2 separate regions of the Homo sapiens genome follow, and region 1 is linked to region 2. Evidence: promoter capture Hi-C in human tissues and cell types (Jung and others, 2019). All regions are on one chromosome and are shown on one strand. The core of a region is centred on a gene start or on the middle of the fragment in contact, and the rest is flanking DNA. Distances in the headings are between cores, read along the strand shown. Region 1 overlaps ATP13A3 (ATPase 13A3). Region 2 holds the start of LRRC15 (leucine rich repeat containing 15).

Region 1 (5,199 bases), core at 1,118-3,617, 89 kb before region 2:
AATTAAATATAAAATCAAAGTGTAAATACCAACAAATTTACTTAAAATATAACTGACAGTAAACTGGTCAGAAACAAAATTTAAAGGTAAATTATGGATTGGAAAATATTTACAGTTTATGTGACAAGACAATAAATACCTATCTGGAAAACAAAGAACTTTGGAATGTGTTTCTCTGCCATATCATTTTATCATTTGATAATTAATCATGTGATCGCTGTGTCCATGCAGGAGATTTATGGTTACAATTTGAGTCGCTGGAAGCTTGCCATAGTTTCTTTAGGAGTGATTTGCTCTGGTGGGTTTCTCCTCCTCCTCCTCTATTGGATGCCTGAGTGGCGGGTGAAAGCGACCTGTGTCAGAGCTGCAATTAAAGACTGTGAAGTAGTGCTGCTGAGGACTACTGTAAGTTTATGTGTTTACTTGTAGCTGATTATTTAAGGAGTAAAACAATGTCTTTGTGTATACTTTATTCGAAATAATAGATGAAGGGAACATCGCTGCCTGGATAAAATGAGGAATGCTAATTCTAGTATTTCTAGAGGATTTGTGTTTGAATTGACTATTATTATAATGATTAGAGTTTAAAGGAATCTTAAAGATGATCAGATTCACCCCCTTCCTTTCATCTCTCTTGTTGCCCTGAGAGATTAGCTACTTGTCTGTTACGGTGCTGGTCCATTAGGACTGTAGTCCAGATCTCGGTCACTAGGCCAGCTGCCTGTCTGCTGTGTGATGCTGATGCATTTCAGCCTTTTTTCTTTTTTAAAAACCCTAATTGGAAGCATTTTATAAGAGGTTTTAATATTTAGTCCAAATATAGAGACTAATTAAGGAATTACTCATGATATTTTATGAAGTATTGATGTGCTTATCGGTAAAATATGTCATAAAAACCATGAGCAATGGAAAGCACCTTATGTTTGAATTTAAGCATCCTCATGAAATGGTTTAATATTTAGTGAGTAGGCGTGATGTTTCCTCAATTAGAGATGAGGAAATAATGTCTTGTAAAGAATGGAAAATAAATGAAAATATAGGCAGTTTTCTATAAAATTGACTCCTTACCGTTATCCCTTTCTCTCTTTAAGGATGAATTCAAAATGTGGTTTTGTGCAAAAATTCGCGTTCTTTCTTTGGAAACTTACCCAGTTTCAAGTCCAAAATCTATGTCTAATAAGCTTTCAAATGGCCATGCAGTTTGTTTAATTGAGAATCCCACTGAAGAAAATAGGCACAGGATCAGTAAATATTCACAGACTGAATCACAACAGGTATTGTGATCTTAATGTCAAAGTTTCTTTAAAAATCAGAATTGTTACATTTTATGCTATCATGTATATTCTATAATTTTGTGTTTGCAGTTAATGCTTGAGATAAATTTACCTGCATATAAAATATTACATATTACTATATATAATGCTATATATAATCCTATATATAGCTGTTAATAGAAGTAACAGATTACATATCACAAGTGATTATATGCTTTTTGGTGTAACGTTTATTTGTGTTCCACAGATTCGTTATTTCACCCACCATAGTGTAAAATATTTCTGGAATGATACCATTCACAATTTTGATTTCTTAAAGTAAGTATCTTCCTTTTGTTTGGATTGTATTTTGAATATCCTGAAAACGTTCTAGATAGAAAAGAGTCCATTCTAGTATTCATAAAATTGCTGAGGTTTTATTTTATAATTTCTATTCACGTATTAATTAACAACTCCCTGTTGCTGTTTGAAGGCTCATTAGCCATTTTAAAATAAGTCCCACCGCAGCTTGCACCATGGCAGAGTTTACATGAAACTTAGAGTCAGTATGATGCCAAAGTCTACTGAGTCTGAGTTCTTACCTGTTTCACCTCAAAGTGATTTTGAGTATACCTCATAGCCTGTGTCTCAACTTAGAGTATCTGAATCATTACCTGTTGGTTTACTGACACTTAAAGCCTGTGGTACTTGAGGAGTAGAGTAATAGGCAAAGAGAAATTTAATTTTACTATGTAGATAAAGAATGGGGCAAGCTGTAGTAATTCCTTTATTTTTAATCGAGGATTTAAGTTATATAAGTACACATTAAGATTCTGTTTTTATTGCTCTTAAAATGATTATTATAAATACTCATTAATATCGTTGCTTTAGAGTGCCAAAGGAATTCTTAATTTTAGCGGTAAAAAGAAAATCATGTTATGAACATTTAAAATATTCATACCTGTAGGTTTCTATTGGAAGTAAAAAATAAAATATTCATACCTGGATTTTTTACTCAGATACACTAATGAATTGGAACATTCTGGAATGGGCATGGGCATTTTTACATGCCTAGTTTTAAAAACCATTCCTGATTAAGAACTATTGCCTTAAAGAAAATCAGGCCGGGCATGGTGTCTCATGCCTGTAATTCTAGCATTTTAAGAGGCCAAGGCGGGCGGATCACCTGAGGTGAGGAGTTCAAGACCAGCCTGGCCAACACGGTGAAACCCCGTCCCTACTAAAAATACAAAAAAAATTAGCCTGGTGATGGATGGCTATAATCCCAAATACTCAGGAGGTTGAGGCAGGAGAATCGCTCAAACCCAGGGGGCCGGAGGTTGCAGTGAGCTGATACTGTGCCACTCCGTTCCAGCCTGGGCCAAAGAGCGAAACTGCGTCTCATAAAAACAAAGAAAATTGCCAATGGGCTGTCATTTTGTTTAAAAAAAAAATTTTTTTTTTTTTTTGACTTGGCACTGGCCCCTGCTGCCTTCTGGAGAAGTCATCAAATTCAGTGGGAAGAAATGTCAAACATATTTACTGTGTGTCTTTTGCCAGCCATAGAAACTTAAAAATTTAAACTTACTCCATTGATTGAAGTGAATTATGAAGCTTAGCTTTCCTATGTGGAAAGTGTGGAAAAGGATTGGAATTAAGTATATGTAAGACTTTCTTTGCTTTAGAGTTATAGCTGGTATCTCAGTTAAAATAAGCATAATTAAGGCGGGGGGTGGTGGCTCATGCCTGTAATCCCAGCACTTTGGGAGGCCAAGGTGGGCGGATCACCTGAGGTCAAGAGCTTGAGACCATTCTGGCCAACGTGGTGAAACCCCTTCTCTACTAAAATTACAAAAATTAGCTAGGCATGGTGGTGTGTGCCTGTACTCCTAACTACTCAGGAGGCTGAGGCAGGAGAATGGCTTGAACCCAGGAGGCGGAGGTTGCAGTGAGCCGAGATTGTGCCACTGCACTCCAGCCTGGCGACAGAGCAAAACTCCATCTCAAAAAAAAAAAAAAAAAAAGCATAATTAAGATATTTTGGGAAAAAGTAGATGTGTTAGTTGAAGCCCACTTAGAATTATTACAGATTTTAGGCATTGTCTGTGACTCATAAATTCTGCACTTCAAACCAGGTATGCATTTAGGGAAGGGTTTGGCTTGATGCTTTTATGGAGATGGAAGAAAATGAATAGAAATTCTTAATTTGACTCTAAAATTGAAAAGGAGAAACTATGTAGCTAAAAAGTAAAATGTTTTCATCTTTGGTTTAGAATTCTCAAGTTATACTTTATCTTAAAATTTTAAAGTTTAATTTTAGCTATTACAGCTTTGGCACAGTCTTAAGGATAATGATATTATTATATAAATTTGAGTATTTAGAGCCATCTCATCTATCCTGCAATAAACATATTGAATAGCTTCGAAGTTGGGTTTGAGACTTAGATTTGTCATTGTTTATCTTAAGAATTTGAGATTTAAAAATTCTCATTTGTTATCTCAATTTTTGTTAAGGGTTTCTAAGGATTTGTAAGGAAGTCACACCTTTATAAAATCAGGCATATAGAAAAATGAGGCGTTAAGAAATTTGGATATTTTAAACTTTGTTTAAAGTAAAAACTTTGGATTTATTTAGGGGACTGGATGAAGGTGTTTCTTGTACGTCAATTTATGAAAAGCATAGTGCAGGACTGACAAAGGGGATGCATGCCTACAGGTAATTTTTATCCAACTAAAGTTAGATCTTCTCAAAATTCCTAAAAGCAGTAGTATACATAATCAACCCTTTACCATATAGTTGTACATATTAACAGATACTTAAATATTACAGACATAGTAGTTGAGAATTTATTGATGTTTTATTTGGGTAAGACTGTCTTAGTTTAAGAATTATAAAAATGTGCAAGCTGATATTTTGAAGTTGGTATCCCTGAAATTATACCATATTTCATCAGTTCCCAGGTGCACGTTTTTCCACCTTTTAACATCTCTGAGATTGGGATGTGTCATAGAGTTGGTGAAGTGTCGTTCTTGATAGCATTTTTATCTTTCTTGATCATATAATAATGGTATGCCTTACAATTGATAGCACCTTAGATTTTCTGAAATACAAGCATGAGTTCAAATTCACCGTAATGAAAGATTGTAAATTGGGAGACATAATCTCCTTCATTGTGTTATTCCTTGTTAAATCATAAAAATACACCAGTGTATTGCGTATGTTAAAGATAAATGCCACTTTGAAATTCAATAAGAAATTTTCTTATAGTTCTGTAACATGTTCTTTCAAAGGGGTAGAACATAAAATTCACTCATTTAGACTTACATTTCATAAAAGTCTAGAATTACTCTATCATATAGAAAATACTATTGTAACATAAGGAATTAAGTGGAAACATTTAAACTTTAAAAGCATTTTCTTTTAAAGTCGAATGTACAATGTTTTGAACTAAACACTGTTAGTGCAATATTAAAAAAAAAATAAGATCCCTCAAATTTATTTGGCTTCTTGCAAAAAATAATTGTAATTCAAAATTGTTAAGATCTAGTGTGTTCAAGGATGCAAAAGAGAACCTTTTGCTCACATGGTATTATAGACTAGTGGGAAAGATACTTGTCACACATAAAGATGTGAGACAAAATGAAGTTAAGTGCTACCAGTATAGGTATCTACTATTGACTTCTTTGTTTTAAATTCTGTAGGTAGAGAGTTTGAATTATAGAAGACAGGTGTTTGGAGACATGAATAAGAACAGTCTGTGGTTTAAGCCTTACCTAATACAATGCCTTTCGTAAATTATACTATTATGATATAATGTAATACTATGAATGTATTTTCCTGTTATAGAAAACTGCTTTATGGAGTAAATGAAATTGCTGTAAAAGTGCCTTCTGTTTTTAAGCTTCTAATTAAAGAGGTAAGACTATTGATTGTATATAACTTAAC
Region 2 (4,783 bases), core at 2,054-4,553:
GGTAAATCAGGCTTTCCCTTCCAATAATAATAGATGTCCCGTCCCTTCATTAGTGGAACGGAGCGGCTGTTCTGGGGGCTGCCTGGGGGCTGCCTTGCTTCCTCCGTAGGAGAAGGTGCTTCTCTGGGGAAGAGAGGGCCTCCATGTGTGGAAACCCGGAGTCCTGCAGCCCGATGTCCACGGCACCTCCAACCTGGGGAACTGCTCCTTCCTGCACGGCCTGGTTACGGTGTGGAAACCCATGCGCTGTCATGAAGGCCAGAGAGAGTTCTCTGTGAAGGCTGGAACCCCCCCACCCCCATAGCACACTTCCTACAGCATGGCTCCACCTGGGCCTGTCCCTCCTCCAAAACTCCTGGTGGCTCCCTACTGCCTCCAGAGGACTCCACTCTTCGGGATCATCCCAGTCCTCAGTGAGGCCCTGCCACACAGCCTGGGCTCTAGCCACATTCTCTCTCCTGCTCACTCTGACTGGATGGCTTTCCTTTACCCTCTCCCCTCACCTTCCAGGGTCTTGCTTTGTCACCGAGGCTGGAGTACAGTGGCGGGATCTGGGCTCACTGCAACCTCCGCCTCCTGGGTTCAAGTGATTCTCCTGCCCCAGCCTCCCAAGTAGCTGGGACTACAGGCGCCCGCCACCACGCCCGGCGAATTTTTTGTATTTTTAGTAGAGACAGGGTTTCACCGTGTTAGCCAGGATGATCTCGATCTCCTGACCTTGTGATCTGCCCGCCTCGGCCTCCCAAAGTGCTGGGATTACAGGCGTGAGCCACCGTGCCCGGCTGAGCCTGCTCATCTTTTAAGGTCACCCTCTGCATGACACCCCAGGTCCATCCCTTGAAATGCTCCCACATTCTCAAGCTTGCCCCGAGGAAGGATCTGTCAGTGACCTCACTCCTTCCATCTTCTCCCAGCCCCGCTCTGCGTCAGTCCGAACTTCCGTCCATGGGGGTTGTGTGCCCAAGCACAGGATCCAGTGGTGTGCAGATGGCATGGAGCCCACGGGCTAGGCTTGGACTCTGGCTCTGTCACTTAGCATATGGCTGCAGGGAAATTAGTTAACAGGCCTGGGCCTCAGTTTTTTTGTCTGTGAAATGGGGGTAATTACTGCCACTCATAGGACTATTTGGCAGATCAGTAGTTCTCAACCATGAATGTGTGTGTGTGTGTGTGTGTGTATGTGTTTGTGTAAACTCCCCCTTCCTGGGGACATTTGGCAATGTCTAGAGACATTTTGTTACTTTTGGATCGGGGGGTACTGCTGGCATCTAGAGGGCAGAGGCCAGGGATGCCATGGTGCCTCCCGCGACACGTAGAACAGCTCCTGCAATGAAGAATTATCTGCCTCCAAATGTCACGTGGTGAGGCCGAGAAAGCTGGTGGAGGTGAAATGATGGAGAGCTGCAGTGAGGTACCCAAGGGGTCTCTGGTTCACAGCAGGTGCTTCCCAAATAGCCATCTTTAAATGCAGCCGATTCATCCCTGTGTTGTCCACCACTCCCAGCACAGTGCCCGACACAGAGCGCTTGGGTGCTAGGATTAGGGAGGATGGAAGAGGAAAAAGAGGGATATTCTTATTCTTGTAGGTTCTATGGAAAGAAAGTTAAAGTGGCCAGGCGCGGTGGCTCACGTCTGTAATCCCAGCACTTTGGGAGGCTGAGGCGGGTGGATCACGAGAATCATGAGACCAGGAGATCAAGACCATCCTGGCTAACACGGTGAAACCCCATCTCTACAAAAAATACAAAAATTAGCTGAGCCTGGTGGTGCGTGCCTGTAATCCCAGCTACTCAGGAGGCTGAGGCAGGAGAATCGCTTGAACCCAGGAGGCGGAGGCTGCGGTGAGCCGAGATCGCGCCATTGCACTCCAGCCTGGGTGACAGAGTGAGACTCCGTCTCAAAAAAAAAAAAAAAAGAGAAAAGTTAAAGTACCTGATTTGGGAACGTGGAGGAATCAGGGCCGTAAGAGGGAAGGTGTTCTGCACGTGGGAACAAGGCTGGTGGGGGAAGGGATGGGGCTTCAAGCTGTGTGGAGCCACTCCAAGCAGTGCCTGCCCCTCCTGGGCTCCTGTTATTTAGTGGACAAGACACTTTTTGTTTCCGGCTCTGAATCACGGTGCCACAGTGAGGAGGAATGTGGCGTGATTCAGGCTGTAGGTCTTGACCATGACAAGCCACCCAAGCAACTATTTCAGTAATAACACTACGCACTTTTATATCTTCCTTTCATCGCAGATCTCAAAACACAGCGCAAATATTAATTAAGCCTCTTGGCACTCCATGAGGCACTGTGTGTAAATATCACTCTCCCCACTTAGCTGAGAGGGTAAACCGAGCCAGGCAAAGGCAGGGTGGCTTCAGCCTGGGGCAGCTCAGGCCTTGTTGAGGCTCCATCTCGGAGGAGAAGCCGGGGTTTGGAAGCCTTCCCGCCCCTCCAACTATGATTCCTGTATCCTCTTCCCCAGGCCTTTTTGGGGATACCACAAATAGAAACAGTTTTGTCCCCACTGGGGACGGGGGTAGAGAGGGCAGCAGTGTGTGGGCTGTAATGCAGAGGTGAGGGGCATAGGGAAGCTCCTCACGCCCAAATATGCCCCTTGATTGCCCGTCCCCAAGCCAGAGATGTGTGTGCCTGCACCTCTCAGAGCAGCAGTAATGGCAAAGACCCCAGCATCACAAGGAAATCGGAAATGCTGTTTTTAGAGGGGACACAGTGGTCGTAATTATATTTTTCCTTGGAATCTAAAGTAAATGCTTCTTCCAAAATGTTAACAACAGATGAAACACATTAATTGTCTGTAAATTTAAAGCCAAATAAAAAGTTTAAAATAAGAAAGAAAGAAAGAAAGAAAGAGAAGAATGAATAAGTTTTCTAGAACCACAGGGAGAAGCACTTGCCAATACTTCTAGGAGCAAAGAAACGCCCCTGAATCCTGCTCCATCCCTTTCTCGGGGTCCTTGTCTCCTTGGCCAGGGCAGGGCAGCAGGGGGTCCACAGTCACTTAGGGAGGGGTTTACCGGGTCGTTGTAAACTCCCCTCTCACGGTGGCCAATGCAGTGAAGGAATCCAAAAGATACACTGGGGGAAAGAAGGAAAGAGGAAAATGTGTCCTGAGTTTTTAAATACGGTTGAAGCAAACCCCTTACATTTAGGGATGCCAGCTATGTGTACCCTGTAGTGTCAGCCCGGGACATGCAGGCACTGCACTGTGGCCCACAGTCCCCCCTCCCAGGGCCAACACTGCCCTCTGCAGTGACTCACGCCCGGGATAGTTTAAATACCGGGACAGCTTAGGCGAGCCACACTCATGCTGCAGCCTTGAGCCGTCCCTCGTCCTCCTCTCAGGCTCCCTCTTGTCCACGGCGGGCGGGCGCCGAGCTGCTGGTAAGTAGGCAAGCCACCCCCATCCCTCCTCTCTGCTTAGAGGGCCCGGCCAGCCCCTTCCCATTTCTGCTGGACCTGCTCCCCTCGGAGACCCCAGAAGGGGCAGAGCTGACATGTGCCTGGGGATGCTCTCGGGACAGGGACAGAAGCAGCCTGTGCTGGAGGGGTGCAAGCCTGTCTCCCTCACTGCCTGGACACCAGGACCACCAGCCCCTCTGCTGATGCCTCAACAGCCTCTTATGCCCCTTGCCCTGAGCGGCTCATGATGTCAACCTGGGGTGCTGAGATGTCTGAGACCAGCAAGTTGGGCTGAAAGTGGACTAAATTATCACCCCCCTTGTCACTGGATTGACCGTTCTGGAATCTAGATCCACTGGGGGAAGAACTTCTCTTTTTAAGGTTCAGATTATTTGCGCCTGTGCCATCTTTCCTGGCACTTGCCCTGGTGGCTCCCAGTGGTCTGCCCCGCATTTGGTTCTGCCCAAGACCTTCCTTCATGGGGGTTTCCCAGGCAAGAGAGCTGTCTGCTTTGCATAGATGGATAACTCCTGCAAGTGTAACTTCAGCAGATGTGCTGGTCCCTGGTTTGCAGTTCCAATTTGGAATTCGGACATGGGCTCAGCATTGTTCAGGCTCTAACAGTGTGGCTTAGGGGACACTATGCTGGCAGTTTCCCCTCTCTCCTGCTGGAAGCGTCGGCCTCTGTGGAGCCTGGAGGCTTTGAGCAGGGAGTCAGGGCAGGAGATGGATTTGTGATGAGGTGGTATGTGGATTTGAAATTGTGACGGCTGCACCTTGACCCGTGTCTCTGCTCAAACGTAGAGGCAGGACCTGGGGCCAAGAAACCAACTGTGGAAAACCAGAGCTTTCAGGACTCTCCCACCCCTGCCAAAGTGCAAGAGCCATTCCACCTCCCGGGCCCAGGGCATCACCTCGGTGCAGCTGCACTCTCTCTGAGATGACACGTGTGCTCCAGTCGCAGGTGCCAGGTGCCTGTCTGCCACGTGCCAGCTTCTCCTTTGGGGTTATCTGGGATGCGTCACTTTACCTTGGGCAGCTCTCAGATGTGTTGCTGCCACTGGCTCCTTAATTTAGAAGTGCTCTAACGGCTGGCACTTCCTTCATTCTGCAGAGACTGAACATCTGGAGTAAATTCAGGGCCAGACAGCCCAATTTGCCTGTGGTCTTGAGTCAGCTGGGCGGGCTCAGCAGTGATGAGGCAGGCATGTGAGAGGGTTCGGGGCCAGGGTAAGTTCTGGATAGATTCGACAGACAGTCAGGTCATGGAAGGTTCTTCCCAGGGCTAGGGAACACTCCCTTAGCTCGCTCAGTAAATGGCGGGGTGGTGAGGCGAGGTAGAATAGATCCAGCCGTGGAGAATAAGGGGTGGGGGAGGAG

The links. Contacts are between HindIII fragments. The study calls those that stand out against the background at their distance.
Region 1: a contact is called between a fragment that was not itself captured here and the fragment with the promoter of LRRC15 in region 2, in 2 of the 25 tissues and cell types used here (mesenchymal stem cells and thymus).

What each region holds. Positions count from the first base shown.
Region 1 is chr3:194,455,864-194,461,062 of GRCh38, reverse strand. It overlaps ATP13A3 (ATPase 13A3), which reads left to right. Exons shown (of 34, transcript NM_001367549.1): 4 at 232-405; 5 at 1,092-1,274; 6 at 1,522-1,592; 7 at 3,889-3,969; 8 at 5,101-5,170. Among named protein-coding and RNA genes, the nearest start is that of ATP13A3, 29 kb to the left of the region's middle. The HindIII fragment of the contact is 3,288 bases long and covers 724-4,011 here.
Region 2 is chr3:194,368,263-194,373,045 of GRCh38, reverse strand. It overlaps LRRC15 (leucine rich repeat containing 15), which reads left to right and starts at 3,303. Exons shown (of 2, transcript NM_130830.5): 1 at 3,303-3,385. RefSeq lists an enhancer at 2,880-3,844. The HindIII fragment of the contact is 13,291 bases long and covers 1-4,783 here.